7 separate regions of the Homo sapiens genome follow, and regions 2, 3, 4, 5, 6 and 7 are each linked to region 1. The links are contacts of gene promoters, found by promoter capture Hi-C in blood cells and fetal thymus (Javierre and others, 2016). All regions are on one chromosome and are shown on one strand. Each heading gives the region's core, a stretch centred on a gene start or on the middle of the fragment in contact. The rest is flanking DNA. Distances are from core to core; before and after follow the strand shown.

Region 1 (2,817 bases), core at 237-2,736:
AACCCTGTATCTACAAAAAATACAAAATCAGCTGGGCATGGTGGTGCACGCCTGTAATCCCAGCTACTTGGGAGGATGAGGCAGGAGAATCACTTGAACTCGGGAGGCGGAGGTTGCAGTGAGCGGAGATCACACTCCAGCCTGGGCAAGAAAAGCGAAACTCCGTCTCAAAAAAAAAAAAAAAAGTGATACGGAGCCTGACCTATTTAGTTTCAATTTTTGTTGTTGTGGTTGCCATTATTCTCATCAACTCCTCCCTGTTACACTCTCCATTTGGGAAGATAACCTGCAACGTTATTAGTAGACAAAAAGTGAGGAATAAAGATTTCTGTAATTCCTTTGATGCTCCTGGGAAGGAACTGAACACAGGGATCCCTGGACAAGGGAAATGGAACTTATAGCTAAGATGCTGTGGATAAAGCTGGCTTTACAAATAATCAGAATAGATGACTCCAATGTCATGTTCTTTGAGGGGTCCTGGAAAGGACCACCCAGCCCTCTAAATTGCTTTCACTGCCATCCTGCCTGAAATTCCATCTTTAGAAACACTGTAATTCCTCTGGATCACTAAGAGCTCCTGAGTGGGTACCAGGACTCCTGAGAGGTCCACCATCTCTCTTTATTGGAACCCCCTCCCCAGAGTACCAGTTCCTCCACAGGGGAACGAGACTGAGCCACTTACAGCTCCTGCCTTGAAGACTGGGAAGGGAGGGTGGGGGTGAGGGTGGGAGAACTCAGGGTTCCTGGCGAGGAACAAAAGCCGGGAAGGAGAGTTCTCCAAAACGCAGAGGAAAGCGGAGGGGGAAAAATGGGGCAGAAAGTGGAGCTAGAAAGAGAGGTAAGAAGAAAGCCAGAGAGACTTCTTCCTTCTGCAAATCGGTCTAAGTTTCGGGAGGTGGGATTGGGGGAGGAGGGGGTTCACCCTGGGGCCAGGCCAGGGCTGGGTGGAGGAGGCGGCCTTCGAGAGAGTGAGTCGGGAAAGAAGGGGAGTGGGCAAAGGGTGAGATGTGGGGTCCCGGTCCCCGCCTCGCTGGCTGCCAGTTCCCTCTGCGTTTCCTAGTCCGCGTGCGTGACACGAGATAGTGCAGCCCTGGCATGGGGCTTGGCATCTGGCGGCCGCGAGATAACCAGGGCCCGTGCGATGGGAAACGTGCCGTTGGCAGCCCGCCACCCCTCCATCGTGACCTCAGTCTGCCAAACAGGGTTCGTGATGCTCAGTTTACTAGGGAGGAGCCGCGGCTTTGAGATCTCGCCCAGCCCGAAGCAGCGGAGACTGGCCAGGAGCCCGGCTGTCAGACCTCGGAGCGCACGCTGCGGGCGGGGGCTCGGTCCACGGGGGAGGGTCAGGGGACGCGGGACTCACCCTTGAAGGAGTCGGGGAGCCGCTGGGCTTCGGAGTCCCGTGTGTGCCGCTTCTCGGCCATGCTGCCCGAGACGCAGTCGCACTCCCCCGTCCTCGTTGCCAAACCCGGAGCCGCCGGGAATGCCCTGAGGAGCCAGAGGCACAAGACCCAGATTGCCGCCCCGCCCCCAATCGAGGTCCCGCCCTCGTGAGAGTTGGCCAATCAACGCCCAGGATCGAGGAGGACCCACCTCCCAATCCCCGCCCTCCTGTCCCTCCACGGCGCGACTGCTTCGCAGTCACTTCCCGCTAGTTCTGTGGGCTGAGGGGCGTGGCCTGAGGGGCGTGGCCTGAGGGGCGAGAGCCCCCAAGGCTGTGGGTATGAGGCCGGGGCCCTGCACCGGAAGGGAGGGCGGAAGCCACGGGACGTGGAGCAGATGGTGAGGATAGTGGGGAGGTAGCAGCAGAGGATGACCCGAGGCAAAAGTGCAAGTGAAGAAAAGTCGCCTTGCCGGGCAGAGGTACGGGACCAAGGCGCCTCCTCTGGGCTGAGGAGTTAGAGGGAAGAAAATGGCGCCCTGTCATGAGGGCGCGAGGTCCGAGTTGAGGGGAGAAGACTGAGGGACACAGAAGTGGCCGAAGTGAGGGCGCTGAGGTCAGCCTGAGCTGAGAGGGCCGGCAGATCACGCCGCAGCCGAAGTGAACGAACTCGAGTGAGGTGTGTTAAGAAAATCAAAATGTATAAATTTGGAAAAGGAGAGGAGGCCGGGCGCGGTGGCTCACGCCTGTAATCCCAGCACGTTGGAAGGCCGAGGCGGGTAGATCATCTGAGGTTAGAAGTTCGAGACCAGCTTGGCCAACATGGTGAAACCCCGTCTCTGCTAAAAATACAAAAATTAGCCGGGCGTGTGGCGCGCGCCTGTAATCCCAGCTACTTGGGAGGCTGAGGCAGGAGAATCGCTTGAACTTGGGAGGCAGAGGTTGCAGTGAGCCGAGATGGCCTGGGTGACAGAGCGAGACTCCGTCTCAAAAAAACAAAACAAAAAACAAAAAAACAGGAGAGGAGACTTTATTTCTTGTAAGGGGTTACAGCCTGCAAGGTGGCCATTCCGCAGGCTGGAGAATGGCCAGGACCAGAGACAGGCATTTCGTTGGAGGAGGGGTTGGAGTAGCGGCTTTATGCTGAACAGCTTGGGTAGACATGCATATTCAGCAGGTGACAGGAGGAGCTATGAATATTCATGAGGGTGGTCCTGACGCATGCCCATTGAGCAAACATGCATGTAACATACAACCCATGTTCATTTTGGAGTGAAGAGTTACCAATTAAATGTTAAATGCCTGGCCTGCATGGTGACGTCCCCATCTCTACAAAAAGTAAAAAAAAAATAGCCAGGTGGGGTGGTGTGTGCTTGCGGTCCCAACTAGTCAGGAGGCTGGGGCAGGAGGATCACTTGAGCCCAAGAGTTGGAGGC
Region 2 (2,830 bases), core at 32-2,531, 750 kb before region 1:
AAGCTTTAACCTGTCAAACTGAAAGAAGGCCAGTATGGAGCCCAGGTTAACAAGGGAGAGAGTAACAGGGCATAAGGTCAGAGAGAAAGGCAGGGCCCAGAAAATGTAAAACCAGATAGGCCATAGAGAGATGTTTGAATTTTATTTATTCCAAAAGGGATGAGAAGCCATTGGAGGGCTTAAGCATGAAAATGACATGATCTGGTTTTACATTTTAAAAAGATTGCTCTGGTTGTTATGTGGAGACTAACTGTGGTGGGGTGGGGATCAGAGAATAGGGAGAGAAGAGAGGAGGCTGAAAGGCCAGATGAGACTGTGCCAAAGTAGTTCAAAGAGATGACAGTGGCTTGGGCAAGGATGATGCAATAAAAGTCATGAACAGTGGTCAGATTCAGGGTATGTTTTGAAGATAGGGCTGATGGAATATACTGATGAGCTGGATATTTGCAGTAATAAAAAGGAGCAAAATCAAAAATGACTACTAGGCTTTGGGACTGAGTAACTTGGTGAAATGAATAGAGCAGGCTTAACTTATAAGTTGAAAAAAAAGTTGTTTTGGATGTGTTAGGTATATAATGCCAATTAAAACAAGTGGATATTTGACAGTTGGATATTTGAGTGTGGAGATCAACGGAGAAATGCAAATCTGATAATAAGCACATATATAGATGGCATTTAAATTAAATCCAGGGTTAAGGGGGAAAATGAGCTAAAACAAACAAACAAATACAAATTAAATCCAGGGGACTGAATGAGACCACTTAGGGAGAAAGTTTAAATGGCAAAGACAAACTTGACAAGCTCTGAGCCCTGAGGCACTCCAGTGCTTGGAGCTGAACTGAGGAAGATGTAGTAGAACAAATAAGAAGGAAAAGCTGGTTAGGTAGCACAAAAACTAGGAAAGCATGATACTCTGAAGTAAGTATCATTGGGGAGTAGAGGATTGGTCAACTCAGTCAAGCTGCTCAGGTCAAGTTACTCATCATGGGACACTATGAATACATAAAGGTACACTGGATTTTCAAAGGAAGTATATTATATGAACATGAAGTTCCAGTTTTAAAAATAATATCCCCCCACTTCCATTTTAAGGGAAACGTGCTTAATAAAGAAAATCTAGAAAAATACAGGAGTAGAAAGGGGTAAAAAATCATCCTAGGAAATCTCTCATTAAGATTTTTAGGCTGGGCTCCGTGGCTCAAGTCTGTAATCCCAGGACTTTGGGAGGCCGAGATGGGTGGATCACCTAATGTCAGGAGTTCAAGATCAGCCTGGCCACCATGGTGAAACCCCGTGTCTACTAAAAATACAAAAATTAGCTGGGCGTGTGATGGTGGGCGCCTGTAATCCCAGCTACTTGGGAGGCTGAAGCAGAAGAATCGCTTGAACCCGGGAGCCAGAGGTTGCAGTGAGCCGAGATCGTGCCATGTACTCCAGCCTGGTGACAGAGCAAGACTCGGTCTCAAAAAAAAAAAAAAGATTTTTAGTACTTCTCTTTGTAATCTTTCCTCATTTACAGGGGTTTGGCTTTTGTTTTTTAACTAGTCTAATTATATGGCATAAGTTATTTTATACCTTGCTTCTTTCACTTTCTCATATTGCTATATATCATTCTTTAAAACATTTTATCAGCCAGGCACAGTGGCTCACATCTGTAATCCCACCACTTTAGGAGGCCGAGGCAGGCGGATCACCTGAGGTCAGGAGTTCGAGACCAGCCTGCCCAACATGGCAAAACCCCGTCTCTACTAAAAATACAAAAAATTAGCCGGGCGTGGTGGTGGGCGCCTGTAATCCCAGCTACTTGGGAGGCTGAGGCAGGAGAATCGCTTGAACCCAGGAGGTGGAGGTTGCAGTGAGCCGAGATCGCGCCACCATACTCCAGCCTGGGCAACAAGGGTGAAACTCTGTTTCAGAAAAAACAAAACAAAACAAAACATTTTATCGAGAACATAGTAACAGTTACCATTTACTGATTACTTGTGATGGACCAGGCACTATATAAAGGCTGTACAAGTGTATTGCATTTAATCTTCACGACAACCCACTAGGCAGTTACTGCTATTATATCAAATTTATAGATGAAGAAACAGATTAAGCAACTTGCTCAAGGTAAGGTCAACATTTGGTTTTCTGTGTTTTTAATAATATACTGCCTAGATAACAGTATTTACTTAATACCCTATTGTGAGAAATTGGGTTGCCTAACTTTTTAAAATTGTAACTACCATTTTGGTGAGCATCTCTGAATATAACCTTCTTAAGAATTTAGAATTCTTTCCTTAGAATAGATTCCTGGAAATAGAACTACCAGATCAAAGAACAATTTTTAAGATTTCTAATACTTACTGTCAAATTGCTTTCCAAAATGTTTATCCAAATATATCTTACCACAAAAAAAGAGTACTTTGAAAATCTACTTCAATCTAAAACACAAGGTATAGCAAAACAGTAGAGGGGGTGAAAATAGGACTGTGAAAACACAGTAAGTGGCCACCAGAGGGCAACCTTATCACAGCACTGTTGAAAATAAAGTCACTTGACGAGAGTGGTTTTATATAAAGCTTGTAATTTTAAATACAGTATTTGCACTCCTTCACGTTGGATTCCACTTTTATTATAATTCCAAACAAAGAACCCATTTATTTCTCTCACTACTAGCTGCTTTTAGAAACCATAACCATGAAAAGAATTATTTTGCCTTAAATTATCTCCAGAGAAAGGACAGGTCAGCACTTACATGACAGTAAAGACAGTGGCCTCGTTGCCTTAAGAAAAATTAAAACTGAGAATCAGCAATGTAGACTGCTTTTCGGTACTGTAAAAGATC
Region 3 (2,753 bases), core at 115-2,614, 620 kb before region 1:
CAGTTGCTGGGTTTTTTGTTTGTTTGTTTGTTTGTTTGAGACAGAGACGCCCAGGCTGGAGTGCAGTGGCATGATCTCAGCTCACAGCAACCTCCCAAACTCCGCCTCCTGGGTTCAAGCGATTCTTCTGCCTCAACCTCCCGAGTAGCTGGGACTACAGGCGCATACCACCATGCCCGGCTAACTTTTTGTATTTTTAGTAGAGACGGAGTTTCACCGTGTCAGCCAGGATGGTCTTGATCTTCTGACCTCGTGATCCGCCCGCCTCGGCCTCCCAAAGTGCTGGGATTACAGGCGTGAGCCACCGCGCCTGGCCTAGTTGCTGTTCTTTGTGTGGATTTGAAGAGATTAAAAACCAGGCTGGCACCACCACCAACCTGCTCATTTTGTGTTTTCAGTTGTTTAATGATTTTTGCCTTCAAGTTCTAGCAGTGTCTTCTGTGTTCCTATATTTAATAAAGACCCGATGAGTGATACAGTTCCACCAACCATGCATCTAGGTTAGCAACCTAGAGCCAGCAAACAAAGAGTATCAGTTTATAGAAAGTCTGTATCTAGAATCCTTCTACTAGCTTACAAATCTCTTGGAGAGTTACTTCCTCTATGGAACCTTGGTTATCACCCTTAAGTAGAACTTCTTCCTTCTTGGTGCTTCCTTCATGACACCTCTTGGGTTTTGTGTGTGTACTATCCTAGGGAACCTGAGCTCCCAGAAACAGTGACCATACACGATTAATCTACATATCCCCAGGCTCCAGCACGATGCCTGATACAGAGTAGAAACCTCATACGTGTTTCCTGAAAGAGGGAGTTTGAGCTAAAAGATGCCTGCAGCTGTATTATATAACTAAAAAAAAATTAATTATTCTTAAAAAAACTCATGCTCGGCCGGGCGCGGTGGCTCAAGCCTGTAATGCCAGCACTTTGGGAGGCCGAGGTGGGCAGATCACGAGGTCAGGAGATCGACACCATCCTAGCTAACACGGTGAAACCCCATCTCTACTAAAAATACAAAAAATTAGCCGGGTGCAGTGGCAGGTGCCTGTAGTCCCAGCTACTCAGGAGGCTAAGGCAGGAGAATGGCGTGAACCCAGGAGACGGAGTTTGCAGTGAGCCAAGATCGTGCCACTACACTGCAGCCTGGGCGACAGAGCAAGACTCCGTCTCAAAAAAAAAACAAAAAACAAAAACAACAACAACAAAAACTCATGCTCACTGTGGGAAACTTAGAAAATACAAAAATAAGCAAATAGAAAATATTTTTCTCATTCTTTTTTTTTTGAGATGGAGTCTCACTCTGTCGCCCAGGCTGGAGTGCAGTGGCTTAATCTCCGCTCACTGCAACCTCCGCCTCCTGGGTTCAAGCGATTCTCCTGCCTCAGCCTCCCGAGTAGCTGGGACTACAGGTGCGTGCCACCACGCCCGGCTAATTTTTGTATTTTTAGTAGAGATGGGGTTTCACCATGTTGGCCATGCTGGTCTTAAACTCCTGACCTCAGGTGATCCACCTGCCTCGGCCTCCCAAAATGCTGGGATTACAGGCATGAGCCACTACACCCAGCAGACGTGCATGTATCTTTATGGTAGAACGATTTATATTCCTTTGGGCATATACCCAGTAGTGGGATTCCTGGGTTGAATGGCAGTTCTGGTTTTTAAGCTCTTTGAAGAATCACCACACTGCTTTCCACAATGGTTGAACTAATTTACACTCCCACCAACAGTGTATATGTGTTCCCTTTTCTCTACCTCTCCAAAGTTCATTCTTTTTTTTCTTTGATACGACAAAGTCTCACTGTGTTGCCCAGGCAAGAGTGCAGTGGCGTGATCTCGGCTCACTGTAACCTCTGCCTCCCAGGTTCAAGCTATTCTCCTGACTCAGCCTCCCAAGTAACGAGGATTACAGGCACCTGCTACCATGCCCAGCTAATTTTTTTTTCGTATTTTTAGTAGAGACGGAGTTTCACCATGTTAGCCAGGCTGGTGTCAAACTCCTGACCTCAGGTGATCCACCTGCCTCTGTCTCCCAAAGTGTTGGGATTATAGGCGTAAGCCACCAGGCCCGGTCAAAAAAAAATTTTTTTTTTTTTTTTTTTTTTTTTGAGACAGAGTCCTGCTCTGTCTCCCAGGCTGCAGTGCAGTAGCATAATCATGGCTCACTGCAACATATGCCTTCTTGGCTCAAGCAATTCTCCCACCTTAGCCTCCCAAATGGCTGGGACTATGGGCGCATGCCACCACGTCTGGCTAATTTTTGTATTTTCTGTAGAGATGGGGTTTCACCCTCTTACCCAGGCTGGTGTCAAACTCCTGGGCTCAAGCAATCCACCAGCCTCAGACTCCTAGAGTCCTGAGATTACAGGCCTGAGTCACTGCACCTGGCCATGTTATTTTTTGACTTTTTAATAGCTATTCTGACTGGTGTGAGATGGTATCTCACTGTGGTTTTGATTTGCATTTCTCTAATGATCAGTTATTGAGCTTTTTTAAATATGCTTTCTTTGGACACACACATGTCTTCTTTTGAAAAGTGTTCATGTCCTTTGCCCACTTTTTAATGGTTTTTTTTTCTTGTAGACTTGCTTAGGATCCTTACAGATGCTGAATATTAGACCTTTGTCAGATACATAGTTTGCAAATATTTTCTCCCATTCTGTAGATTGTCTATTTACTCTGTTGACAGTTCCTTCTGCTGCCTACTGATGTCTTAGCATGACATGCCCTATGATAACTGGAAATAAAGTAGAAGGCAA
Region 4 (2,806 bases), core at 170-2,669, 580 kb before region 1:
TGTGTCTACCCGTTAGACCATTTTCTCCTTTAGGAGAATGACAAATTGCTCCTGAGCTAACTGTAACAAATAATTTTTTTTAAAGTATCCTGTATTAGTGTCAACAGGTGTTAATTCACTCTTAATGAGGATTAGACTAATGAAAGATTACAAAAAATATAACCAGTAAAAACTATCTTTCTCAAGACTATGTGTTGATAGATGTTAATGCTGGGTGATGTGTACATAGGGATTTATTATTCTCTTTATTTCCATATATTTAAATATTTCCATGGTTTAATAAAAACTTTCCTTCTGAATACTCAGTTTCTCACAAGACTGTCATATTAATTTTAAAAACATATGTCCAAATTAATGTGAAAAAGGAAAGTTAATTTCTTTCCAGACATATCACCTAGATCAGGTCTACACAAAAAGCAAGATCTCATCTTTCAACTTTGATAATGTAAGGTGAGTAAAATTGTAAGTGTCCAATATCAAATTTGGCAATAACATTCTTAGACAAATAAGCAATCTGATTTATTAGTAGAAGCAACCAAACCTTGCAATCACATCATCTGCTAACAGTTTTGATTTCTGGAACTGTGACTAGACTTCAAGATAATACGTTTCAAGCCAAAGTTTGGGCTAGAGAAGATTTATTAATCTGTATTAAAAATTTACCTAGCTGACAAAAAATAATCAGATGGCTAAAAGTTTTATCGACTTATCACGCAATAACAAGCCCCCTCCTTCCTCTAAATCCTAACAACCCTCTTATCTATACAACATTTCTTCAAAATCTCTACTTCTAAAAAATAATAATTTGCAACAAGACAAAGCAATTATCTTCTGTGGGCATCTGCATATTGTCACAATAGCTAGTTAATTAATACTGGTCAATTAAAAACACACACCAGGCTGGGCACAGTGGCTCACGCCTGTAATCACAGCACTTTGTGAGACTGAGGTGGGCTCGGCCGGATCACGAGGTCAGGAGATCGAGATCATCCTGGCTAACACAGTGAAACCCCATCTCTACTAAAAATACAAAAAATTCCCCTGGCATGGTGGTGGGTGCCTGTAGTCCCAGCTAGTCGGGAGGCTGAGGCAGGAGAATGGCGTGAACCCAGGAGGCGGAGCTTGCAGTGAGCCGAGATCACGCCACTGCACTCCAGCCGGGGCGAGAGAGCAAGACTCCATCTCAAAAAAGAAAAAAAAGAAAAAAAACCACACACCTGCTCCTGAAACATTTTTAACAGTGAAAAGTGTGGTGTGGCAAGCTTCCTCCATCACATCTACACATACATATATACACACATACATACACATGCTGACACACATCTATTGTAGAAATGCTTGTATTTAAGTGAGCTGAACTGTTATTCAAACGGCTACAAGGCAAATTTAGAATACTCATTAAAATATTATCAGGTTCCCATCATTCACAAATATCTAAGAGACATACTATAATATGCCAAATTCACATGTATACCTATGTAACAAACCTGCACGTTGTGCACATGTACCCTAGAACTTAAATTTAAAAAAAAAATGCCAAATTAATGTGCCCATGACACCGCTAAAGATTACGGAAGAAGCTTTTTCAGAGAGCACATCTAAAAAAATTCAGCCATGTCTCAGATTTATATATTCTCCTAACTCTTAATAAAAAAAATTTTCCCAACTCTTAGATTGCCTTTTAAACCACTCAATCCCTTGTAAGATTGAGCAGTTCACCTCTGATTATTCTGAAAAAGGCATTTTTTTCCCTAAAAAAGCAAGTCTCACTAACTGCAGAATGCACTATTTAAAAAACACCAATTTTTACTTTTCTGAACAGATCAACTAACTTTGGAGGGGGCCTTCTAAGGTAACAGGTCTAAACTGGACTCTTTTAGGCAGCCTCTAGAAATATCATACACTGGTTGCACAAACCTCAGGAAATGGGATTTCAATTCAACATGAGGAGCTTTTAAATCTCAGCGCTTTCCAACAATGGAATAGCTACCTCCAGAGTAGTGAGTTTCCCATTACCACGAACAGTCAAGGACAGTTGGACACAGAGGCAGAATGTGATAAATGAAAATACTTTGGAGGTTGGCCAGATGTTTTACTGATTCAGCCACTTCCTATGTGATTATGGGCATGTCCAACTAACTTTTAAGCTTCAGTTTTATCATCTGTAAAATGGAAGCCATCATCCAACTTGAAGGGTGAAACTCAGAAATATAGCAGGGACATGCTTAGCACAGTGTACAGTCTAGCGGGTAAAAACTCAAATGGTACTTTTTGTTAGTTTTACTACTATGAACACCTGGCAGTAAAGATTTCTGTGACACTAAGGGTGGAATGGACATGACCACTAACATCTCTTTTGACCCTATCATCTTATCACTAAGTTTCTCTTCAAAATACCTGGAAGAAAAACTCAAGGGCTCAAACTTACTAGGGGTTTAATTTTATAAAGAAGAGCACCTGTTTATTGGAGGCTCTAGTTTCCCAGTAGGTGCCTTATTCTACCCACATTCCCTGCTGTTTGGCCCCCTTACCCTACGTCCCTACCCCAGAGTTAACATTCAACTTGCCCTCTTGCCTTCAGTATCAATAATCACAAAGTGGGTCATGCAACAAAAAGACTCCTAAATTGGAAAATGAGAGCCTGGGTTTGGTCTCAGGTTCTGCCATTAACTCCCTATGTTACCTAGGCAACTCACATATTTATATTGGTTTTAAAGAAAAAGTACCACTGGTAAACATTATCTCATTTCATCTTCATAACCTCATGGAAGGTATCAGTAATGCCGCCCTTAACTAACATTAATGA
Region 5 (2,836 bases), core at 182-2,681, 670 kb before region 1:
AATTGGATATAGTCACGAAAAAACTTTAAAAATTCAGAAAAACACAAAGAAGGTAATTAAAATTACCCATAATCCCATTACTTAGGTTTAACTAATTAATATTTTGGTATATTTCTCTCCTCATATGTATATTGCTGCTTAATATAATGTAAACATTTTAATGTAAGTTCATAAATTACCAAATTTCTTTATCATAAAATGTTAGAGTAGGAGAATTCCTCTTTCAAAAATCTTTACTGAAAGGACAAATCCAAAATATAAGCCAAATGAAAGAAGAGCTGATGTAAGTGGGGGTGGTGATGTGGAGGTGAGAGGTGAGAGTTGGGTGTGAAAGGTCCAGAAGTAGACCTGTTGGCCTCTCCAGTCCCTATAATGGCTCCCAAACACATCTGAGGAACCCTGGGTCCCCAAATAATACTGTTTAAAAATCACAAATCTAGTCTAACTCATTTAACAGATAAAACTACTTGCTTTTACTAGACAGATAACTAGTAAAAGAACTAATGAAAGAACTTAGGATCCCACATCTTACAGACAAGTGCTCAGCTTCTGCAACTTAGCTACCCTTTCTACAAAAGTCATCAAATGTTCATTTGTCCATTGTTGTTCTTCCTTTAAGAAAAATACAAGGGAAAATGTTACAAACAAAAAATGAATCATTAATATAATAAGCTGGATCTCAAGGAGTTCCACTTGTCCTAAGCAGGTTCTCAAACTATTCCTCATATTACTATGAGTGAGAGAAACATTGATTTCTAAACTAAAAAGAAAGGCATGATTACATTATTTTCCTCAAGAATACAATGCATGTCTAGTATACCTACAAACTGTTCCTTCTTTTTCACTAATTCAATCACTAAATATTTATTAAGAATCTATCTGGGCTGGACAGCAGAGGTATAACTGTGAACAAAACAAATGGAAGTCCTGCCCTCATGGAGTCTGTAAGCCTGACAGGCTTGAGCAAACTACTTTAACTTTCTGAATCCCAGTGTTTGCCAGTCATAAAGTAAGGTTAATAAGATTTAACTACTGCATTGTTTAAGAATTAAATGACACGATGTACGTAAAAAAATCCTTATAGGTAATCAGGCATATAATATGTGCTCAGTTAATATTAGTTACCTTCCCTGCCAAAGTGTTAAATATCAGATTAAAAATGAAAGGTAACAGTGTAAGTCTCTTTGCTATTAAAACAATGATTTGAAGTAGTACAACTGAAATAGCAGGTTAAGATAATTCCAAAGAGATTCTGGGCCAGGTGCAGTGGCTCATGCCTGTAATCCCAGCACTTTGGGAGGCTGAGACGGGTGGATCACCTAAGGTCAGGAGGTTGAGACCAGCCTAACCAATATGGTGAAACCCTGTCTCTACTGAAAATACAAAAATTAGCTGGGTGTGGTGGTGGGTGCCTGTAATCCCAGCTACTTGGGAGGCTGAGGCAGGAGAATCACTTCAACCTAAGAGGCAGAGGTTGCAGTGAGCCAAGATGGCACCACTGCACTCCAGCCTGGGAGACAGAGTGAGACTCTATCTCAAAAAAAAAAAAGATAATGCCAAAGAGATTCTTACACTAGGAAAGAAGTAAATATTTCAATACGAAGAAATGAAATTGAGGTTGGGCGCGGTGGCTCACACCTGTAATCCCAGCACTTTGGGAGGCCAAGGCGGGCGGATCACTTGAGGTCAGAAGTTCAAGACCAACCTGGCCAACATGGCAAAACCCCACCTCTTCTAAAAATATAAAAATTAGCTGGGCATGGTGGCAGGCACCTGTAATCCCAGCTACTCGGGAGGCTGAGGCAGGAGAACTGCTAGAACCTATGAGGCAGAGGTTGCAGTGAGCTGAGAATCCGCCACTGCATCCCAGCCTGGGCGACAGAGCGAGACTGTGTCTCAAAAAAAAAAAAAAGAGATGAAATTCACATGAGCCCTCACAGTCAAGTTCTGTGATTCACCTTGTTATCTCCATGACCATTTACTTTCAGTTACTTCTGGGCTCTTTCCACAACATTCAGCCCTGTATAGTGTCTAGGAAAGAAAATATAAAGCAAACAGTCCTCTTCTCCAAATACCATTTATTCATCATATAAATATGGGCAGCTAAACAAGACAAGATTTACACTTAACAAAATAAACTTAAAAGACAATGGTTTAAAATACAAAATATCAAATCTGAAACCCAACAAAACCTATAAAGGTTTGATCAATATTCACCAATAAAAGTACAGAGGACATAAGCCTTTTTCATTCATATAATATGCAGAAATCAACAAAATGTGAATTGCAAGGTCTTAGACATTCTAAGAGCACCTTGTAAGCCATAATGCACTGCACACTTGTTAATTGCTAATATTAAAAGCACTCTGTTCACTATTAACTTTAATTATATTTCTAATGGGGAAATTCTGTCATTCAAAAGATCAAACATTTGTTTCTTAACGAAATTAATTATATACTGGTATGCATCTCAAAACCACCTACCAACAAAAACAGGTCATGTTATTCATAAATAGGAAAATAAATTTGCTACTTATTCAAAGTTCTTGATTTTTTTTTAGAGCCAGATAACTTCTATTATGAAAGTTTTTTCTTTATTGTTCCTCAGAAGAAGGTGGCAGGGGGTAGGTGGGGCATAAGTTGGACAATAAAGAAGACCCCAGTGGAAAAAGAAAATCTTTTCTCCATTTTTTTTCAAAAAGAGAGAATACCGCATTCTGAATATTGTATAAAGGATGACATTTTCATATTAAGAAGGCTTCATAATCTAAATTACATAGACCAAAAACAAATCAATAGGAAAAAAGTGAAAGTCACAGAGAAAGACAGATTTTGT
Region 6 (3,115 bases), core at 553-3,052, 600 kb before region 1:
CACAAAAAATAGGTGGCTACCGGGTTAGGGCTCAAGATCTGTGAAGATGAGCTGATTCCAAAGACTGAAACACAAATATGTTGCAGAATAGAGCACAGGTCTTGACAGGTTTGTGGCTTTCACTTTGATCACTTTAGAAATGGAACCAGACATCCCTGCTGTGCAGAGTCTGGGTCCTTGAACCTAAGTAACCTTACATGCTGTAGAGATAACCTAACTCAAGCAATCACATCATATCTCAGACTTATTGAGTAACATGCTGTTATTTGTGCTTTGCTTCTTTTCAATTAGCTTCAAAGCTAAGTAGCCCTACCTGGTCCTAGCAACTGAAGCCAGAGGATTTGTAGTAGGTTTCAACAGAGGTTGGTTTATCTGTGTTTGGGAGGAAAAAAGCAGACACAAGACAGACTCTTTTCGGAGAAAAAATCTGAACCTGGCAACTCCTACCCGCAAACAATCTTACAGGTTTATTATTTAAAACTATTATTCAAACACTAAAAACTAGCAACTTTCATCTAGGACTCTAGAGTCTCTATATGCCACTCTGAGTCACAAGCATACATGAGAAAGCAGATGTGGGACCAAATTAAACCCTTTAGAGATGCTAAGCATTAAAACAACTATGACATCTCTAGCCCACCTTGCCTTTGCACCTTCCCACCTAAAATTTTAATTCAAAACAAAAACAATATTGAACTATAAAAGATGTGATTTTCCCATGGTGATTACTTGAATATTTTGCTTTACAAAATATCAGATTCTTTCAAAACTTTATTTTCCCCTGTTTTTGGTGTCCCTGGCTTTCTAGTACCATAAGTATATACCTATTGGATAATCCAGCCATGCATGAATGGACGAATGTTGGAATACAGTGAGAGGTGGAATGCTGGGCAAGGCCCCTACCCTGTCTCAGCTTCAGTTTCCCTACCTACAAGAGGAAAAGCTTAAACAGATGTTTTCTAGGAAAGGTTTCAGTCTTTTTTCTCAAAGCATAAATATCAATCATTTCTATAACTGATTCTGACAGCTCTGAAACCTAACTGGTTAGAAATGTTGGTCTGATTCCAGGAAGACATAAATGGGGTTGTAACTTTGTGATCAGAGAGATGTGGCCCACCAAAGTTTTGTGGTTATTGTGATCAGATCCACACGAGCTGACCTCAAATAGTCATGCATAAAAACAATGAAGAGGCCGGGTGCGGTGGCTCACGCATGTAATCCCAGCACTTTGGGAGGCCGAGGCGGGTGGATCACGAGGTCAGGAGATTGAGTCCATCCTGCCTAGCACAGTGAAACCCCGTCTCTACTAAAAATACAAAAAATTAGCCGGGCATGGTGGCGGGCGCCTGTAGTCCCAGCTACTCGGGAGGCTGGGACAGGAGAATGGTGTGAACCCTGGAGGCGGAGCCTGCAGTGAGCAGAGATTGTGCCACTGCACTCCAGCCTGGGCGACAGAGCGAGACTCCATCTCAAAAAAAAAAAAAAAAACAATGAAGAGAATGTTCAATTTTCTGTACTCCTCCAAGTCCTGAACCATGCTATGGGACGCTAACTTTTTGAGTTGTTATTAATAAGTGTGTGCACAACAGGTGTGAAGTACAGTAGGTTCAACAAATTCAAACAGGTTTCTTTACATGGGTCCTCTCAGACTTATTATTAATAAAGATCTGCCAGGTGGTATACTAGGTCCTCATCACAAGCATTTCATTTAATAGTCACTTTATAGATGATGAAATTGAGCTACAGAGGAGTTAAGAAACTTATACTAAATCACACAGCCCATTAGAGATGGCACCACATCTTAAACCAAGGTTTGTCTATCACCAAAGTTCTCTTAATGACCACATGGCACTGGCTTCCATCAGCCCCAAATATGCTAACAGATACTGTCCTTCTCCAAGAAGAGCCTATGGTATGCAGTGAATCACAAAATTATTTGTCTATGGACTGCTGCTTATTTACTTCTTTGGAGGGAAACCCTGCAAATTTTATTTTTCTCTAAGTCTCTGTCTTTCTACTAGTCAACAGAAGGTCACTTGATCCCTAGATACCACTAAAGTTTACCAAGTTTGTAAAACAATGCAGAATTTCAACAGAATATGAAATAGGACTTAAAATATTAGAACTTATGGAGATCTGAAAGATCTTTTCATCCATGCCCCTCATTTTCCAGAAAAGCATGTTAAATCTGAAAGAAGTGGCTCATGACTCACAGTCAGGCAGCGGACGTTCCAGTACGTAACTCTTTTTCATTTGCTTACTTCCTCTAAAATATTTTTCCTGTCTGAGATGTTCAGTATATATAACCCTGTTTACAAGTGATACAGTATACATTTCCTAAAAGCCAGCTACTGACTGGTACATCCAAACATTTAGTCTTGTCTTTACTACTGAACTGCAGCAGGCTTTCAAAGGTAAAGCGTGAGGTCGAAGGAAACATTACCTGAGAATATCATAACTGGCAAAGTCCCACTGGTAGAGACCAAGTGCTGAACTACAGACAATGTATTTGCCATCAAAATGAAGTCTTGGCTGCAGGCAGATACTTCTATCCTCAGAGACAGACAATGTCTTTAAGCACTTACAGTTGATTTCTCTCCCAATTGGCCAAATCTACAGAAAAAAGAAAATGAGGAAAGATGAGAGATCACATCACTACAGAAAAGCTTGTCCTTAAAATGGTCTGCATTTGTGAAGTCAGATAGAAAGTGAAGTATACTGGAAAGACCCCAGGTTTTATAGCCAAGAATCACAGGTTCAAGTCTTAATTCTCCTGTGCAATCTTGGGTAAATTATTTAATCTCTCTTAACTCCAGCTCCTGCAATGAAGATAATGCCTATCACACGGGACAGTATAAAAGATCCAATAATGGGCCAGGCACGGTGGCTCGCGCCTGTAATCCCAGCACTTTGGGAGGCCTAGGCAGGTGGATCACCTGAGGTCAGGAGTTCAAGACCAGCCTGGCCAACATGGTGAAACCCTGTCTCTACTAAAAATACAAAAATTAGCCAGGCGTGATAGCACACGCCTGTAATCCCAGCTACTTGGGAGGCTGAAGCACGAGCATCACTTGAACCTGGGAGGCAGAGGTTGCAGTAAGCAAAGATTCTACCA
Region 7 (2,969 bases), core at 405-2,904, 650 kb before region 1:
GGATTACAGGCGTGAGCCACTGCACCCGGCTCATTATTTCTACTTTTAATAATCTAGCCAAAGGCCAGGCACAGGAGATCATGCCTGTGATCCCAACACTTTGGGAGGCTTAGGTGGGCAGATCACTTGAGCCCAGGAGTTCAAGACCAGCCTGGGCAACATGGTGAAACCCCGTCTCTACTAAAAAAAAAAAAAAAATTACTAAAAATTAGCATGGTGGTATGCAGCTGTAGTCCCAGCTACCTGGGAGGCTGAGGTGGGAGATCACCTGAGCTTGGGAAGTCGAGGCTGCAGTGAGCCATGATCATGCCACTGTACTCCAGCCTGGGCAACAGAGTAAGACCCTGTCCCAAAAAGAGAAAAAAAAAAGAATCTATCCAAAGGAAATAAATAATCAGATGTAAATATGTATGTACAAAAATGTTCACCAGAGTGTTATATAATTACAAAAATTAGAAAAATCTAAACAGTTAACAAAGGATTAGTTGAGTACTTTGTGCTGTATGATGTTTCTATGTAGAAACACTATACATCTATAAAAAATGATACTCACCTGCCTAGCACTGCCTGCCCAACACTGCCCACCCAGTGCCTGTCCCCAGACTATGGCCCAGCCCCCTTTGCCCTTGTCCATCAAAGGTGCCGCCAGCATGTCTGACAAACTGCCCTACAAAGTTGCTGACATCGGCCTGGCCACCTGGGGACACAAGGCCCTAGACATTGTGGAGAATGGATGCCGGGTTTGATGGGCATGCAGGAGCTTTACTCGGCCTCCAGGCCACTGAAGGGTGCCTGCATTGCTGACTGCCTGCAAATAACTGTGGAGACGGCCATCCTCATTGAGACCCTTTTCTCCCTGGGTGTTCAGGAGCAGTGGTCTAGCTGCAGCATCTTCTCCACCCAGGAACATGCAGTGGCTGTCTTTGCCGAGGCTGGCATGCCAGTGTTCACCTGGAAGGGCAAAATGAAAGAGGGGTACCCGTGGTGCATTGAACAGACACTGTACTTCAAGGACGGGCCCCTCAACATGATTCTGGATGATGGGGGTGACCTTACCAACCTCATCCACACCAAGTACGTACCCACAGCTCATGTCGGGCATCTGAGGCATCTCTGAGGAGACCAAAACCGGGGTCCACAACCTACACAAGATGATGGCCAGTGCAATCCTGAAGGTGCCTACCATCAACGTCAATGACTCCGTCACCAAGAGCAAAATTTGACAACCTCTATGGCTGCCAGGAGTCCCTTATAGATGGCACCAAGTGGACCAAGACGTGATGATTGCCAGCAAGGTAGCAGTGGTAGCAGGCTATGGTGGTGTGGGCAAGGGCTGTGCCCAGGCCTTGCAGGGTTTTGGGGCCTGCATAATCATCACCGAGACTGACCCCATCAGTGCACTGCAGGCTGCCATGGAAGGCTATGAGGTGACCACCATGGACGAGGCCTGTCAGGAGGGCAACATCTTTGTCACCACCACAACCTGTGTCAATATCATCCTTGGCCGGCACTTTGAGCAGATGAAGGATGATGCCATCTTATGTAATACTGAACAATTTGACGTGGAGATCGATGTCAGGTGCCTCAACAACAATGCTGTGGAGAAGGCAAACATCAAGCCCAGGCGGACTGGTACTGGCTGAAGAATGGGTGCCACATCATCGTGCTGGCTGAGGGTTGGCTGGTCAACCTGGGCTGTGCTATGGGCCGCCCCAGCTTTGTGGGGAGTAACTCCTTCAACCAGGTGATGGTGCAGATTGCGCTGTGGACCCACCCAGACAAGTACCCCATTGGGGTTCACTTCCTGCCCAAGAAGCTGGATGAGGCAGTGGCTGAGGCGCCCCCCTGGGCAAGATGAACGTGAAATTGACCAAGCTAACTGAGAAGCAAGCCCAGTAGCTGAGCACGTCCCGTGATGGCCCCTTCAAGCCGGATCACTACTGCTGCTGAGAGTCAGGCCTGCCCTTCACTTTCCAGCTGCTGTCCTTGCTCAGGCCCCGCCTCTTCTCCCTAAGAGCAAATGGCACCAACTTTGTGATTGGTTGGTTAGTGTCCCCCATCGATGGGGCTGGTCACTCAGTTTTTGGCCTCTGCTGCATCCCTAACACTATATCAAGTGTGGCGGGGAAATTGAGAGGCCCCTCCTCAAGCCCTGGTCATGATGGAGGTACAAGGGAGGCATCCACAAGGAACCATGAGTTGAGTGGTCTTGGAACTGCTCACTAAGTCAGTCCTTCCTTTTTTTTTTTTTTTTTTTTGGTATTTTTGGTAGAGACGGGGTTTCACCATGTGGGCCAGGATGGTCTCGATCTCTTGCCCTCATGCCTCGGCCTCCCAAAGTGCTGGGATTACAGGCATGAGCCACTGGCGCCCAGTCAGTCCTTCCTTAGTTTGGAAGTTGGTAGTGGAGTCACAAAGCCCATGTACCTTACCATTCAGGTAAGGTTCCTGGTCTGTGGACTTATACCGTGTTCCTGGTCTGTGGACTTATACCCGTGGTTTACAGGTTCAGTGGTTCCCCAGCCCATGACAGATGAGAAGGAGCTATATTGAAAGGCAAAGAGGAACTGTTGTTTGAATTTTCCTGAGAGCCTGGCTTAGGGCTGGGCCTTCTCTTAAACCTCATAACAATGAGGTTGGTACTTTTAGTCCCTGTTTTACAGGGGTCAGAATAGACTGTAAAGGGATAACTGAGAAAGGACAGAGAAGTGACAGCCAGAGGGGCTATAAAAACATAAAAGCAAGCATAGATCTGCTACTACTTTGTAACAAGATGGTTCCTATCACAACCCTGGTTCAAAAAGAGAATAATATGGTTTTAATGTTAAAAGAAAGCAGGAAGGTGGGTAAATAAAAATCTTGGTGCCTGAAAAAAAAAAAAAAAAAAAAAGATGATACTCAAGCACAGTGGCTCATGCCTATAATCCTGACACTTTGGGAGGCCCAGGCGGGTGGATTGCTTGAGCTCA

The links. Contacts are between HindIII fragments. The CHiCAGO score rates a contact against its expected background, and 5 or more counts as called.
Region 2: a contact is called between a fragment that was not itself captured here and the fragment with the promoter of STOM in region 1, in 4 of 17 cell types (total CD8 T cells, naive CD4 T cells, neutrophils and 1 more). The highest score is 5.7, in total CD8 T cells.
Region 3: a contact is called between a fragment that was not itself captured here and the fragment with the promoter of STOM in region 1, in 10 of 17 cell types (total CD4 T cells, naive CD4 T cells, activated CD4 T cells and 7 more). The highest score is 11.9, in total CD4 T cells.
Region 4: a fragment that was not itself captured here is called in contact with the fragment with the promoter of STOM in region 1 in 1 of 17 cell types (non-activated CD4 T cells); the score reaches 6.3 in non-activated CD4 T cells.
Region 5: a contact is called between a fragment that was not itself captured here and the fragment with the promoter of STOM in region 1, in 3 of 17 cell types (activated CD4 T cells, neutrophils and naive CD4 T cells). The highest score is 5.8, in activated CD4 T cells.
Region 6: a contact is called between a fragment that was not itself captured here and the fragment with the promoter of STOM in region 1, in 2 of 17 cell types (naive B cells and naive CD4 T cells). The highest score is 5.2, in naive B cells.
Region 7: a fragment that was not itself captured here is called in contact with the fragment with the promoter of STOM in region 1 in 1 of 17 cell types (neutrophils); the score reaches 7.4 in neutrophils.

The regions. Positions count from the first base shown.
Region 1 is chr9:121,368,764-121,371,580 of GRCh38, forward strand. It overlaps STOM (stomatin), which reads right to left and starts at 1,487. Exons shown (of 7, transcript NM_004099.6): 1 at 1,364-1,487. The coding sequence starts at 1,424. LOC102723324 (a long non-coding RNA gene) reads left to right here and starts at 1,130. Exons shown (of 7, transcript NR_187160.1): 1 at 1,130-1,203. RefSeq lists enhancers at 1,492-2,452, 1,912-2,001. The HindIII fragment of the contact is 8,041 bases long and covers 1-2,817 here.
Region 2 is chr9:120,617,434-120,620,263 of GRCh38, forward strand. All of the region lies in intron 3 of MEGF9 (multiple EGF like domains 9), which reads right to left. Among named protein-coding and RNA genes, the nearest start is that of CDK5RAP2, 39 kb to the left of the region's middle. The HindIII fragment of the contact is 2,561 bases long and covers 2-2,562 here.
Region 3 is chr9:120,752,866-120,755,618 of GRCh38, forward strand. No RefSeq gene overlaps it. Among named protein-coding and RNA genes, the nearest start is that of FBXW2, 39 kb to the right of the region's middle. The HindIII fragment of the contact is 3,828 bases long and covers 1-2,753 here.
Region 4 is chr9:120,789,299-120,792,104 of GRCh38, forward strand. All of the region lies in intron 2 of FBXW2 (F-box and WD repeat domain containing 2), which reads right to left. Among named protein-coding and RNA genes, the nearest start is that of FBXW2, 2.7 kb to the right of the region's middle. The HindIII fragment of the contact is 318 bases long and covers 1,261-1,578 here.
Region 5 is chr9:120,702,436-120,705,271 of GRCh38, forward strand. All of the region lies in intron 1 of MEGF9 (multiple EGF like domains 9), which reads right to left. Among named protein-coding and RNA genes, the nearest start is that of MEGF9, 11 kb to the right of the region's middle. The HindIII fragment of the contact is 2,993 bases long and covers 1-2,836 here.
Region 6 is chr9:120,768,905-120,772,019 of GRCh38, forward strand. FBXW2 (F-box and WD repeat domain containing 2) reads right to left here. Exons shown (of 8, transcript NM_012164.4): 7 at 2,444-2,613. Among named protein-coding and RNA genes, the nearest start is that of FBXW2, 23 kb to the right of the region's middle. The HindIII fragment of the contact is 1,723 bases long and covers 942-2,664 here.
Region 7 is chr9:120,720,023-120,722,991 of GRCh38, forward strand. It overlaps the pseudogene AHCYP2. Among named protein-coding and RNA genes, the nearest start is that of MEGF9, 7.0 kb to the left of the region's middle. The HindIII fragment of the contact is 4,871 bases long and covers 1-2,969 here.